Linked DNA regions of Homo sapiens: regions 1 and 3 are each linked to region 2. The links are contacts of gene promoters, found by promoter capture Hi-C in blood cells and fetal thymus (Javierre and others, 2016). All regions are on one chromosome and are shown on one strand. The core of a region is centred on a gene start or on the middle of the fragment in contact, and the rest is flanking DNA. Distances in the headings are between cores, read along the strand shown.

What was found. Contacts are between HindIII fragments. The CHiCAGO score rates a contact against its expected background, and 5 or more counts as called.
Region 1: a contact is called between a fragment that was not itself captured here and the fragment with the promoter of CCL28 in region 2, in 1 of 17 cell types (neutrophils). The highest score is 6.2, in neutrophils.
Region 3: a fragment that was not itself captured here is called in contact with the fragment with the promoter of CCL28 in region 2 in 1 of 17 cell types (neutrophils); the score reaches 5.5 in neutrophils.

The regions. Positions count from the first base shown.
Region 1 is chr5:41,785,699-41,790,353 of GRCh38, forward strand. The region is part of intron 13 of OXCT1 (3-oxoacid CoA-transferase 1); the gene reads right to left. Among named protein-coding and RNA genes, the nearest start is that of OXCT1-AS1, 82 kb to the right of the region's middle. The HindIII fragment of the contact is 1,932 bases long and covers 978-2,909 here.
Region 2 is chr5:43,409,886-43,414,459 of GRCh38, forward strand. It overlaps CCL28 (C-C motif chemokine ligand 28), which reads right to left and starts at 2,506. Exons shown (of 3, transcript NM_148672.3): 1 at 2,368-2,506. The coding sequence starts at 2,431. The HindIII fragment of the contact is 1,630 bases long and covers 1,386-3,015 here.
Region 3 is chr5:41,861,438-41,866,441 of GRCh38, forward strand. It overlaps OXCT1 (3-oxoacid CoA-transferase 1), which reads right to left. Exons shown (of 17, transcript NM_000436.4): 2 at 1,205-1,313. It overlaps LOC102723752 (a long non-coding RNA gene), which reads left to right and starts at 1,751. Exons shown (of 3, transcript XR_925956.4): 1 at 1,751-5,004. The HindIII fragment of the contact is 2,275 bases long and covers 940-3,214 here.

The DNA of each region.
Region 1 (4,655 bases), core at 694-3,193, 1.6 Mb before region 2:
AATTTACAAAGGAAATAGTCAAAAGCACATCCCAAGGCTCTTGGGACCCTCAGCAGGCTGAAGGAATACAGTATAGGAATAGCAAAGGTTTTGTATGAAGGATTTATTTCATGAAAAGTATTCTAACTACCCCTACATTTCTCAGCAACCAAGGAAGGGGTAAGGGTATGCCTGCTGCTCACTCCATTGACAAATCAGAGCCTGAAAGATGGGGAGTGCAGATAGGGAGTGCTGCCTGACTCTTACCTGAGAAAATTAAAGGGGCTGTTTTGCGGAAGTAACTACACTATCACTGGAGGCAGTAGAAGAAATGTGAGTGCTTCCCAGATGGGGGCCATGTGAGAGAGGAACAACCTCAACAGGTTAATGCTTTGTCAACAGGATAGCCCAGGAAGAGGGACTCCACCGGTAAGAGTCTATATGTTAAGTGGACCGCAGGAAAGTCAGAAGCTGCTGGGGAAGCATCCAGCCATCACCCATAGGAGCAGCCGCTGCAGGAGGAACCAAGAAGGGGGTCTCTAAAGACAACTGCTCACCCCACTCCACACACACAGAGAGAGGAAGGGATCAGCTTTAAATATTTTTATGGACCAGAGATCATGGAGCCAGCAAACAGGATTACCAGTCTCCTGCTATGTAAAATCTTTCCTGCCCTATTTCCTTGCCTTCCCTTTCTCTTGAATTTTGATCCTGGTGGGTGCCAAACAGTGAGCTGGAAGAGGAGGGGAGTAGAGAAAAAGCAAAAGCATACTATATAACCTTCTTCAAATGCAGGCAGACTGTAGCTGGGAGATCAAAAATGAGGAGATGCATTGCTTTTGAATGATTATTAAAGCATTTTTCACTGTTTTGGAATGGACCCTCTAATGTCTGAATGAAGACTGAGTTTATGAATTAAAGTCACTTAAGAGCTGTTTATTTTCCTAGAGTGAGCTGAAATGTCATGCAGCCTGAGTATTCATTAACAGCAGAGGAAAAGCTTCCCTAACAGAATAGGTTAAAGAGTACCACAGGAGATAAAAATAGCTGTATTTTATTCTATCCCACATTTAGAGCTTGTTCAAAATATTGTAAACAGAAGAAATGCACACACATTCACATACATGCTTGTTACAGTGGATCTCCTAAGATACATTCACTAACACAGAATACTCATTATCAATGTTGTTTTTTAATATAACTAAAGAGAGCAACACTGGAATTTGAAGAGAGATAATTGCTAGAAGCCAAAAGGAAGGTCTCCAAAACAAGAGAGAAAATGATTAAATGCCCTCCTGAAGAGTAAGGTACGGCTGCCCCTTAAACAATCCCAGAGAGCAGCTTTATAAAGAAATGCCAAATAACGCAAGAAAATAATATAGCTTTTAAAAAGCTGATACCAGTGTTGGTAATAGAGTAGAAACAGTGTGAGAGTAAACTGGGATAATTTTTCTGGCCAGTAACTCTGTGATATATCAAAATCCCTAAAATACTGACAAAGATATTCTATTTCTAGGGATTTGTACTAAGAAAACCATCAGTAAATACACAATGACATAAATTCAAACATGTTATTAATGATATTAAACAGTTAGAAAAATCAAACTGACATGAAAAAGTGGCTTTCGGACATTAGACCACACACAGTACGGGACTACCATTTCTGAAAGAAGGGAAGCCAACAAGATAGGTCTACAATTTCCCCCAGCTTACTGCCTGGAGAGAATTTGCAAGCTGCAGTACAGGAAGTCAAACTCAGCAATTTTGTTGGCTTCAGAGAGCCTGAGGCAACTACAATTTGAGATCTGAAAATACCAGAAAGGAGGTCATTATACAGAGTGAGAGCTCAGATTTGCAGAGGAAGAAGGTCTCAAGTCTTTAGCAGAGTATGAATATGTGCATATATGAGAAGAAATTAGTCAAAGCCTGAAAAAGAACCATTAAGCAAGCATTAGGCAAAAAAAAAAAAAAAAAAAAAAAAGCCCAAAACTAACACAGGTCTAGGAACAATTCACAATCCTACCAAACAGTGAGGAAAGATTTTGTAATATATGGAGCATCAGGCAGAGTCCTCCGAAGAAAACTTTCTCAGTAGTGGGGCTATAAATTAAACTGCAACTAAAGGCTACTCTCAACTAATCTTAACACAGCTTAAAAGCAAATATTGAAAAAGATCAACCTGAGAGACATCTATAGAATTTGTGCTACAACAAACATCAAAGGATGTCCTTCAAGCAGAAGGAAAAAAACATCAAATGGCAATCTAGATCTCTGCACAGAAAAAGTGCAACAAACAGAAAATATGTTGGAAAAATATAAAAGATTTTTCCTCATTTTCAAAGATTACTTAAAAAGATAGTCGAGTGTTTAGAGCAAAAATAATAGCGAAGTATAAGGTTTATGTCACATGCAGAATTAACTATCACTAAAGAACACACAATAAGGCAGAAAACAGAAGTTTACTATTGTATAATTCTTACATTATATATAAAGTGATATATTACTTGAAGTAGATTGTGATTAAAATATGTATATGGTAGACCCTAGAGAAGCCACTAAAAAGTAATCCAACAGTGAAGATAAAATACTCAAAAAATACGTAATTGATCCCAAAGAAATCAAAGGGCAAAAAGGACAGATGAAGTAAACAGAAAAAAAAATATCCTGATAGATTTAAACCCAACCATATTGATGACTACATTAATTGTAAATGGTCTAAACCTCCAATTATGATTTAGAGATTATAAGATAACAATCTAACTATATGATTACAAAAACCTACTTAAAAATAAAGGTGTTCATAGGTTACAGGCAGAAGAATGGAGAAACATACTTTGAAGAGTGACTATATCAGCATCAGACAGTAGACTTCAATAAAAGGAATATTATTGAAGAGACAAAATGACAGATCAATTCATTAAGAGAATGTAAGCTTAAATGTGTATAAATGCAAGTAGTAACAGCTCTAAAACAGATAAAGGAAAAAGTGGTATAACTGAAAGGAAAAACAGACAAATCCACAATTATAGCTGAAGATCTCAAGACTGCTCTCTCAGTAATTGACAAGACACAGAACACTTGAACAATACTAACTGCCCATTTGATCCAATTGGCACTTACAGAACACTGTACCCAACAAGAGCAGAATATATATTCAAGTGCAAATGGAACAGTCACTAAAATAGCCTACATTCTGGGCCATAAGCAAGTCTCAAATTTAAAAGGACTGAAACTATAAAGTGTGTTTTCTGACCTCAAAAGAATTAAACTGAAAAATTTTTAAAAAGTTATGTGGAAAATTACCAAATATTTGGAAACTGACACACCTTTAAATAAACAATGGGTCATACAAAAAATAACAAGGAAGATTAGAAAGTATTTTGAAGAGACTGAAACAACATAAAAATTTGTAGGATGTTACTTGCTTATATTAGAGAAAAAAGGTTTCAAATCAGTGATCTAAGGCAGAAGTTGGCAAATCTTTTCTGTAAAGGGCCAAACGGTAAATATTTTAGGCTTTGCAAGCCACACAGTTTCTATCCTAACTATTTAAAGCAGCCATAAACAATACGTAAATGAGTGGATATGGCTATGCTCCAAGAAAAATTTACAAAAATAGGCAGTGGGCCAGATTTGGTACATGCAACACAGTTTGCTGACCCCTGTTAGAATATCAGCTCCATAAATGCAGAGAATTTTGTCTGTTTTGTTAACTACTGCATCCCCAAAAACGTTGTCGTTTATATTTAACAGTGCCTGACCCTTAATATATGCCAGATCAATACATGTTGAATGAATTAGCGAATTTAATCCTCAGAACAAGCATGAGTTAAAAATTGTCATTTTACCAATGAATATACTACAACAGTGATATACTACATGATCAATAAGTAAAGAACCAGTATTTAAGCTCAAGTCTGTCTAATTCCAAAGTTTTATGAGCTTTCCACTACATTACACTAATAAGACAAAGGCATTACTAATTGTAAAAGTTTCATATGACCTCATATGGATTTTCCACCTGTTTTTCTTTTCCTGAGCCTCAGGACCAAATGGACAATACACTAAAGTTAAAACAATGTCTAGAGATTTATGCTTATTTCCTCACCTATGTCATAATATATTTAAATATCTATATTTTGGACTAACATTTGGATTACAATTGATGCAACTAAACAGACTGAATCTTCAACACAAACCCCCTTGTAGTTTTATAACCAGGAATACTAGTGACTTAACTTATTTAAAACAGGTAGCATGTCTAGAGAACCCAATCAATTTTATGTGCTCAGACATGTAGCACACAGGAGTATGACATTAATTAGTATTTATTCTTTTCAAATGCACAAAGATGTGAAAAATGTGAGGGAGAAAAGGAAAAAAATAAAAAAACACCAAAAGTGTCCCATTCTTTCTTGCCATAAGAATGCCTCATTCAATCCTCTCCACATAGAGGAGGGCTCTTGGCTCTTGTGCCACTCACGTACTGCAGCCCTGTCCAGTGGGCTGCTATTTTGTGCTTTCAATAACCAGCTCTCATAGCTGACCATACACATCTGCTTCCCTTCATAAGTCAATAATCAATGCCAGCTGTTCTCCAAAAATAGGCATTCAGAAAGCACTAGAGCAGCTCTGAATATAGATTCAGCGGACTGCACATCTTTCCATCATTTATT
Region 2 (4,574 bases), core at 1,256-3,755:
AGCCAGCAGCCACGTCAGCAGAGGTGGAGTGTGCCCTACCTTTGGGCAGAATCCAAGGCTTTTAATTATAGATAAAGTCACCTGCTTCCTGATTTATGCAAAACACTTAGGGAATGCCAGTTATTGAGCCATCACAACAAGATAGCCATTTAAGACACCATTAAGATAAGGGAACAGCTTTCTGCCTCAAGGAAACAAAATATATTTCCCAAAGTTCCAAACTGGCACAGGCCTTTTTCCTATTCCCCTTGCCAAGGCCACCTGTCCTCTTCTCTGCACTGTTGAGTTGTTGAGTGTTCTCTACCTTCCTCCCTCCCCACTTGGTTTTCCACCCCCTCCCTGGAGCCAGAATCACTTAAGTGCCTCCCACAGGGCACCTGGCTTACATGGACACTTGAGTGGAAGTTTGTTAAGAATAGCTGTGGCGTTGCCCCTCTATTCCACGACTGTTCTCAGGCCTACTTGTGTATTTTTACCCAGTATCACTTATTTTTAAATGACAGAAGTTTGGAGCTTCTCAGGCAATGTGATTTTCCTGTGGCCTAAACTGCCTTAGGTAAAGCATCGAGACTAACCCAAAAGGCTATTGCTGGGTCTCTCGGCTCCCTTCCTTATTATCACCAGCAGCCGTACCTTTTCACACACCTCTGCATTTTGCCGTTCCACCCCACCGTCTCTACCAGGACTCAGTCCCATGTGAAGGTGGGTCCTGGGTATGGCAGAGCCTTCCTCATTACCCTCTGCCTCCTCGACCTGCTGTTCCCTCCCTCCTTTCCTGTAGGAGAGCTGCCGCTGTGGGGACAGGTGGGAGTAGGTCAGGAAGCTGGATGGAGGTACACATTTCAAAGTTTTATGTAAAAAATTTGAGTTGGTGGAATTACCAGAACTAGGAGTGAAGCCTTAGCAGGTAGGCCTTTCAGAAATAGTGAAAATGAGTCCCCAAATCTCAATGGTGAATTTTTCTGAGAAATGTTACAGAAACATAAAGTGACAAATTTTTGTCTTTATATTGATAAGATAGATAGATTAGTAGAAATTGAGAAGAGATTGTCCAGGTTTTTTCTGTTGCTTATTTGTATAAGCCCAGTACATTGACGGACTATATTGGGAGTCCCTAAGCAAATGCCTGCAGGGACCAGGCAGTTAATACAGCAAACTTCAGAGGCTCATCTGCTTTAGCCAGTTCTTGCCATGGTATGGTGGAATCATTGTTGCCACATCTGATTTCTCAAGAGAAGCTTTAAAATCCAATTTGTATGTGTGTATGTATGAGTATGTACATGAGAAAGCTTTCAGTTTTAAAATGTTGGCTCAGATTTTTAAAAAGCAGACCAAAGACTTATATTCCACCTCTGCTCTAGACTTAGAGAATCTGTTCAGGATAAAGCTTAAAGAAAAGATGACAATGGAAAAGAGTCATTGGTCAAGTATTAAGTACTGACACTTAGGGTTTCCTGAATATAGTAGTGAGTGCTACTTTAGAAGAGATTCCCTCTAGTTCAAATGCAGTTACAATCTCCAAATACATGCTAGCAACTCACGATTTAAATTCTCTTTGACATAATTTGTATGGTTCAATCTCCCTCATCCTGCTTTTCTTCTTTTTCTTTCTTTCCTTTCCTTTCTTCCTTTCCTTCTCTTTCCCCTCCCCTCCCCTCTTTTTGTTTTTAACAGATGGGGTTTTACTATGTTGCCCAAGCTGGAGTGCAGTGGCAATTCAGAGTGCAGTGGCAATTCACAGTGTGATCATAGCTCACTGCAATCTTGAATTCCTGGCCTGAAGCTATCCTCCAGCCGTAGCCTCCCAAGTAGGTGGGAATACAGGCATGCACCACTGTGCTCAGCTCTGCCCTCCCTTTTTAAAGGTCAGACTGAAGTTTCAGTTTTCTGTATCCATAGAGCTGACTTTGCTCAGGAAATTTACAACTTACCTAATTTGAACGCAGCTGGCCAAGTCTGTATTTCCCTCCAGGAATGTGCACAGTTGTGTTCAGACCGTTTAGCAGGTTGGGGTGTGGAGGAAGACAGATGAATAGTAGGGGCTTTACTCCAGCCTCTAGCTGGGGATTTTCTAAGATACTGTCTTCAGAAAAGGAAACATAGCTCGAAGTTGTACCTACATGGAAGGACCTCATCCTCCAGGTGGCAAAAATTTGTAGTATGCCTGTTAGAATGAGGTTCCTTCCTGAAACTTCTGGGAGATCTAGAATTTAAAGCTATGTCATTCTCTTGTAGGTAATCAGAAATCAATTGGAAATTCCTGCTTGAAGAGATAGATATTCTTGCCCCACCTCAATCCTTCCAGCACAGATTTGGGAGATACCCCCCTTTCCAGTGAAGGCCTAAGTGTCCAGTGCCCCCACTCACCTTCTGAGGCATGTAGGGCCGCACAGACAGCCAAGGCCACGATGGCGAGTCCTCTCTGCTGCATTCCTGCCTGCCCTACTGGCACTGACAGCAACACAAGTGAGGCTGTTCGATCAGGAAATGAGGCTAAAGGTGTCCTTGGGCACAGAGAAAGTGCAGAGGAAAAGTAAGCCAGGTGGCCCCGCCCTGGGAGGTGTTCAGGGTATCTATTTCTCATGTTTCTTTCCTTAAGACCAGGCTCCTCCTCGACTTATTAAGCTCCTAACTTGTGTTCATCCTGCCTGGGGGTCAGGGGATGTCAATGGAGATCTGGCAGCTGGCAGGGTCACTGTGAGGTGGGGTGTGCATCAGAATCATTTGGGGAACATTAAAAAAAATCAATCTAAATGACTCTCCCCTTTCCCTGATTTGTAAACCAGAACTCCCAGGTAGGAGACCAGTCATTTGAATTTTGTAAAAGCTCTATAGGTGATTCTGATGGACACTTATGTTGAGACCCATTGCATAATCAGTTTTTAAGTAGCTTATGGAAACCATGAGTTTCTGGGGACAAGGGTGACAAGTCATAAAAAATGTATCTTTGTGGAAAGATATGGAAGTATTAAACCCCACTTTAGTCTTGGTTCACAGCCAAATTGTTTCCAGTGAAGCTTTTTACAATAGCTTATTTAGGAGAAAGACAGGAAGGGGGGCAATGCCTTGTAGAAAAGAGCCCAAGAGCAGGTGTGAAGAGGCATGAGCGCTAGTGCAGCTTTGCTGCCAATCAGCTTTGTGAATAAAAGCATGGGGTAGCATGAAGATAATTGGATTCTAATTGTTCCTCATCTACTAATAAGTTGTATAACCTCAGGCAACGTACTTAACTTTGCTGTAAATAACAAGTCAGACTAGATGACCTCCAAAGTCATGCCATGCTTCCTCTAGAACTGTGTTGTCCTATGTGGTAGCCGCTAGCCCACATGTGGCTCTTGAGCACTTGAAATATGAGTAGTCCAAACTCAGATGTACTATGGGTATAAAATTCACACTGGATTTCAAAGACTGGGTACAGAAAAAAATATAAAATATCTTGTTAATAATGTTTATACTGTTTATTGATTACATGATAGTATTTTGGACTTTTTGGGTTAAATAAAATATATTATTAAAATTAATTTCACCCATTTCTTTTTATGTTTTCAAATTACTGCTGTGGTTTGAATATTTTTTTCTTCTCCAAAGCTCATGTTGAAAATTAATCCCTAATAGTGCTGGGAGATAGGGCCTAATGGACAATGTTTAGGTTATGATGGCTCCACCCTCATGAATGGATGAATGCTACTATAAAAAGGGCTTGTGGGAATGGGTTGGTACCTTCTGCTCTTCTGCCAGGTGAGTACACAATGCTCCTTCTCTCCAAAAGATGCAGCAAAGTGGCATCATCTTGGAAATAGAAACTGAAATCACTGGAGCCTTGATCTTGGACTTCCCAGCCTCCATAATTGTAAGAGAATACATTTCTGTTATTTATAAATTGCTCAGTCTCGGGTTGTGGTGTTATGATATATATATTGGCTTTTATCCATGGTTCCTGGCTTATAACTCCCATAACCCTTGTTACAGTTTTTTTTTGTTGTTTGTTTGTTTGTTTTTTTTTTGAGACAGAGTCTCGCTTTGTTGCCCAGGCTGGAGTGAGTTTCACCATCTTGGCAAGATGCTGGTCTTGAACTCCTGACCTTGTGATCCACCCGCCTTGGCCTCCCAAAGTGCTGGGATTACAGACATGAGCCACTGTGCCCAGCCCAGTCTTTTTTTTATATTATAATGTTGGGGCACTTTAGGCTTCAGGAACAGGCCTCAGGAAACGGAATCTCTCTCTGACCTTCTGTTTTTCTTTCACCTGCCCAAGGCAGGACTCTAATCTGATTGTGGGTCATAAGATCCTCATTCCAGAAAGGGTTCTGTCCCATACTCTAGAGGAAGGAATGCTACACAGGCCAAGAAAAGCCTGAACAGGCAGGACTTGCTGGGTTTAGATTATGTGCTTTTTGTCTAATCACATTTCTACATGGTTGTTAATCATGCCTATGTAATGAAGCCTTTGTAAAACCCCAAAAGGGCAGAGTTTGGAGAGCTTCTGGATAGCTGAACATGTGGAGGTTCTTAGAGGGTGGCGTGCCCAGGGAAGGCATGGAAGCTCTGCATCCCTTCCCCCATACCTTGGCCTC
Region 3 (5,004 bases), core at 827-3,326, 1.5 Mb before region 2:
AGGGGGTAACAATGTTCTTTCAGAGAAGTGTGTGTTATTCTTTTTAAAAGGGAAATAAAACAAAGCACATTATTAGATCTACTAAGCAAAATACACAGATATATCTCAGCAGCTAAGTAAATGGTCATATAGCTGTATCCAAATGTTTTGCACCATTATATCACATATCACTGCCCAGTCTTTGAACCACAAGTATAAGCCAAGTGCAACCAGTTTATATGGCTACTCATTCCTCAGTTTGCACTTAACTATATATCTATTGTTTTCCTGCTTTGTAAATCAGTTTTTCTACAACTTTTTCAAGAATGTTAATATGTCTGAGTAGATTTTGCATAGTTGGAAGCCTAAGCCCAAAACTGTCATTTCTTTATATTTTCCATGATTACTCAAATTGTATTGGGTTTAAAATGAACATTCAATGACTTACTTGAATGAGTGGAGATCAATGCTAAAAATAATCCTTGACATTATTTATCAGAAGCAGGCAGCAAGTTGGGTGTGGGTGGCTCACGCCTGTAATCCCAGCGCTTTGGGAGGCCAAGGTGGGCAGATGACTAGAGGTCAGGAGTTTGAAACCAGACTGGCCAACATGGTGAAACCCCATCTCTACTAAAAATACAAAAATTAGCCAGGAGTGATGGTGGGTGCCTGTAATCCCAGCTACTCGGGAGGCTAAGGCAGGAGAATGGCTTGAACCCGAGAGGCAGAGGTTGCAGTAAACTGAGATCGCACCACTGCACTCCAGCCTGGGTGACAAAGTGAAACTCCCTCGAGAGTCCAAACAAGAAGCAGCAATAGAATTGGCAGTGGGGGAGGTCAATACATGTCTACGGGGTCTCTGAAGGTGTAAGCTTATGAGATTAATGCAAACATTTTAAGTTAAAAAATTGGGATCTAGGGATTTTTTTCAAAGCTATTAATAAAACCTGACTACTTTGAAGCTTCAGTTTTTCAAAACAGAAACACACAAATACACATACACACACACATGCACGCACACAGAGAAAGTAAAATATTAAGTGCTAAACCTTGCTAAACTTTTAGGAAGGAGACACTAATAAAATAGATGATATTATAATATGTACAATAAATAATGCATAATAAAATAATTATCATTTTTATACATCTTTGTCATTGTGATTTGCCTGCTTCATTTAAAAACATAAGGACATTACCATAACATGAAAACAGTGTTAGTACTCACCACCAACCAAAACCGTGGCACCATCAGGGATGTCTTTTACAGCTTCTACTGGATCTGTATAAAACTTGGTATGGCGATGAGCACTGGTGGAAAAGGAACAAACACATCCCTGAAATATTAAAAAAAAAAAATTGATAATCATTTGGAGATACAGCTTTACTTTGTGTGTGTAGCAATTTATTCAATTGATAGACAAATGATAATTTCATTATCTCCTTTATATATACACGTTTTTAATTGCCAGGTAATAACTGTATATAATGTATATATTTATACAGGTAATACATGTATATATTTATGGCATACATGGTGTTTTTATATGGATAGTAGACCCCCCTTATCCACAGTTTCCCTTTCTGAGGTCTGTCACCCCAGGAAAGTACGGTACAATAAGATTTGAGAGACAGAATGCATTCTTATAACTTTTATTACAGTATATTGTTATAACTGTTCTATTATTAGTTATTGTGACTAATGTCTCATAGTCTAATTTGTAAATTAAAATGAATGATACACATATGTAGGAAAAACAACTTATATAGGGTTTGGTACTACCCACAGGTCAGGCATCCACTGGGGTTTTGGAACATATTCCCCTTGGATAAGGGAGGATACTATATACATTGTTGAACAGCTAAATCAAGCTATTTATAAATGCACACACTTTTTTATGGTAAAAACACTTAAAAATCTCTAAGCAATTTTCTAGTATAAAATATATTATTAACCATAGTCGCCATGGTGTTCCGCAGATCTCTTGAATTTATTCCTCCTAAATAAAATTATGTATCCTTTGACCAACATCTCACCAACCCCTCACCCCCAGCCTCCATAACCACCATTTCACCTTTCTGTCTGTGATACTATCCCCCTCTTCAAAAGCCTGGCGCTTTAAGTGACTCATACTTAAAAGTAGGATGGATATTTTATCCACAGATTATCACTGAAGTCCCCTTGTAACAGATGTCTTCTATTACATAAGGGAAAGTTCTAACTCCATCATTTGTGGCCACCCAAAAGAATGAAAGTAGAAAGAAAAGTCCATATACTGGAATTCAAATTCATAGCAATGGTGTCATCAAGCATCAGTTTCTGGTAACCCAATCTTCCATTAATCAACAAGTATTTACTGTAAACCCACCATGTGTCAAGTCCTGTACTATTTATTCCAACACAGTTAAGTATTAAGACATGAGCACTGCTCTCTAAGAAATTAAAGCCAATATGAACAAAACACATACCTACAGAGTTGGGCCCCAGGTTCAATCTTAAATGTCAAAGAATGCCTCCTAGAGGGACAAAAACACCTTACAAAACAACTCATCCTCCTATGGGGCTTAAGGTTTATGGAGGCTACATAAAAGGAACAAACCATTATCTACAAGGAAGGTAAGTCTAGCCTTACCACTGTGTACTATTTGGTCCCAAATGAGTCACCTAGTGAATATTCATGAGCAATCAGTTGTAAACTTTTCCCTTTCCCCTACTTCATCCACACTATGCACAAAAGAAAACAAGAAAGCAGATTCTGTAGCAATCATTCATACTCAATATCACCTCTCCTTTATTCTCACTATACAGCCAGGCTAAAAAGAAAGAATAACATCTGAATCCTGATATACTGCTACCTTAACATGCCAGTTATGAGCTCACATCCACTGCCTAACAGTCTCCCAGACAGACACAACCTGAAGTGGTCAAGGTGACAGCATAAATATCCATCATTCTTTTCTTCCCCTAAAAATATGCCAGCACACTGCTCAAACCCTGAGAAATAAGTCTAGGCAGAGACAGAAAGGGCTTGAGCCACAAAGAGTTTTCCCTCTTTTCTATTCATCTGCTTCTGTTTTAAACATATATTTTTTAATATATTAGAAATTACAAGTGTGATAGCCTGAATAAACAGGCCAACAGAAGGATCGTAAGATAAAGTTGAGGATATCTCCTAGACACACTTAAAAAGTGCATATATCTAATCCAACCAATTCATTTCACAGGTCAAATTTTTGAAGCTTAGAAGGATCTTGTACTTTACCCAAAACTGTATTAAAGCAAGACCAGATCCAAGGTTTTATTTGGCCTTCTACCTCAGGGCCTTTCTACTACAATATGCTTCTCTCCATGTTTTTTGAAACCTCTCATACTCCACTTCTCATTTTTTGATATAAAATAAATCTTTGTGAGTGTTCTATTTCTTCCTGTATAACTCTGCTGTCATTACCTCCACCCAAAAGTGAAGAGTCAGGCCCTTATAGCTGGAAGGGGAAGAAAATTAAAGAGTTCATCCACAGCTCAACAGTCTGTGCAGTAAGATCACCCTAACTATTTCAATATGCTGAGAAACACAAATCCCACATAGAGAGGAAGTTGGAAGAAAACTCATTTCCCCTATATACCTATAGAGGCTTTTTACATTAAGGTATCCATTCCCTCAAGCATTTATCCTTTGAGTTACAATCCGAATACACTTGAAGCTATTTTTAAATGTACAATTAAGTTGCTATTGACTATAGTCACCCTATTGTGCTATCAAACAGAAGGTCTTATTCATTCTTTCTAATTTTTGGTACCCATTAACCCTCACTACCTCTCCCCTGCCCACAAATAAAAGCATATAACTACAGGCTTGTCAAGAATTCTATTTTTTTGTTTCATCTGATAGTTTTCACTACAGTTAGAAATTACCAAAGAGCTTGCCACACTCTCTGCAAAAAAATATACTTCAAAAGTATTTTAGGGAAGACATGTTTACCCAGATAATCAAAAGTTAAAAGCATAAAGTGAAGATGTTTTCCAGGTAATCTGAGAAGGGCTCAAGACAATGAAGAACCTGCAGGTACTTGTTTTTTTCATTATTCATATATTCAGTTAACAATATTTGTTGACATTTGATATCTATTTACTAACAGGTCAACTTATACTACAACAGATTGTATCCTAAGAAACCCAACATCTAGTTTAGGAGATAGTGTGCCATAATAGATCATGCTCTTGGGATCAAAAAATACCCTTGCTTCAAATTCCAATTCTGCCACAGTTGTATGAATCTAGGAAAATTACTTAACCACTGCATCTCTTTTTCATGGGGGGAGAAGGTATTTTAAGTTTACAAAAAGATGATAATTGTTTTCTAGGAATGTAGTAAGGATCAAATGATGTTATATACAGAAGCCCTGTTGCAGGACTATAGAAGATATCCAGGGGATACTAGCTTCCTTTGGAAAATGCAAACTTTTCTTCATTCTCCACTAGGGCAGTAAGATCAATTTGTCATTTATTGGAGTTTAGTTTTAATTTTAATTGTATATAAATGTATATATTTATGCAGGTAACAAATGTATATATTTATGGCATACATGGTGTTTTTATATGTACAGTAGACCCCCCCCCCCACCGCTTATCCACAGTTTCCCTGAGGTTATGTATGTATATAACATATTCTGATGTTATATACAGAAGCCCTGTGCCTGGACTATAGAAGATACTCAGGGGTTGTTAGCTTCCTTTGGAAAATGCAAACTTTTCTTCATTCTCTACCAGGGCAGTAAGACCAACTTGTCATTTATTGGAGTTTAGTTTTAATTTTTAACCACCTCACTCTACCCTATACACACACTCCACTGATTTTACAAAGAATGTTTTTAAACACAATTCATACTGTAGCAAATTAACCCAGGTGATCTTTGTTGAAGGTTTTCAAAAAGACATAGGCCTTAGCTTTAAGATTACTTTCACATGAGGTGATATTTATTTTGTCACCTTACAGTTAAATAAATGACAAGGAACAGCTGATATTGTCC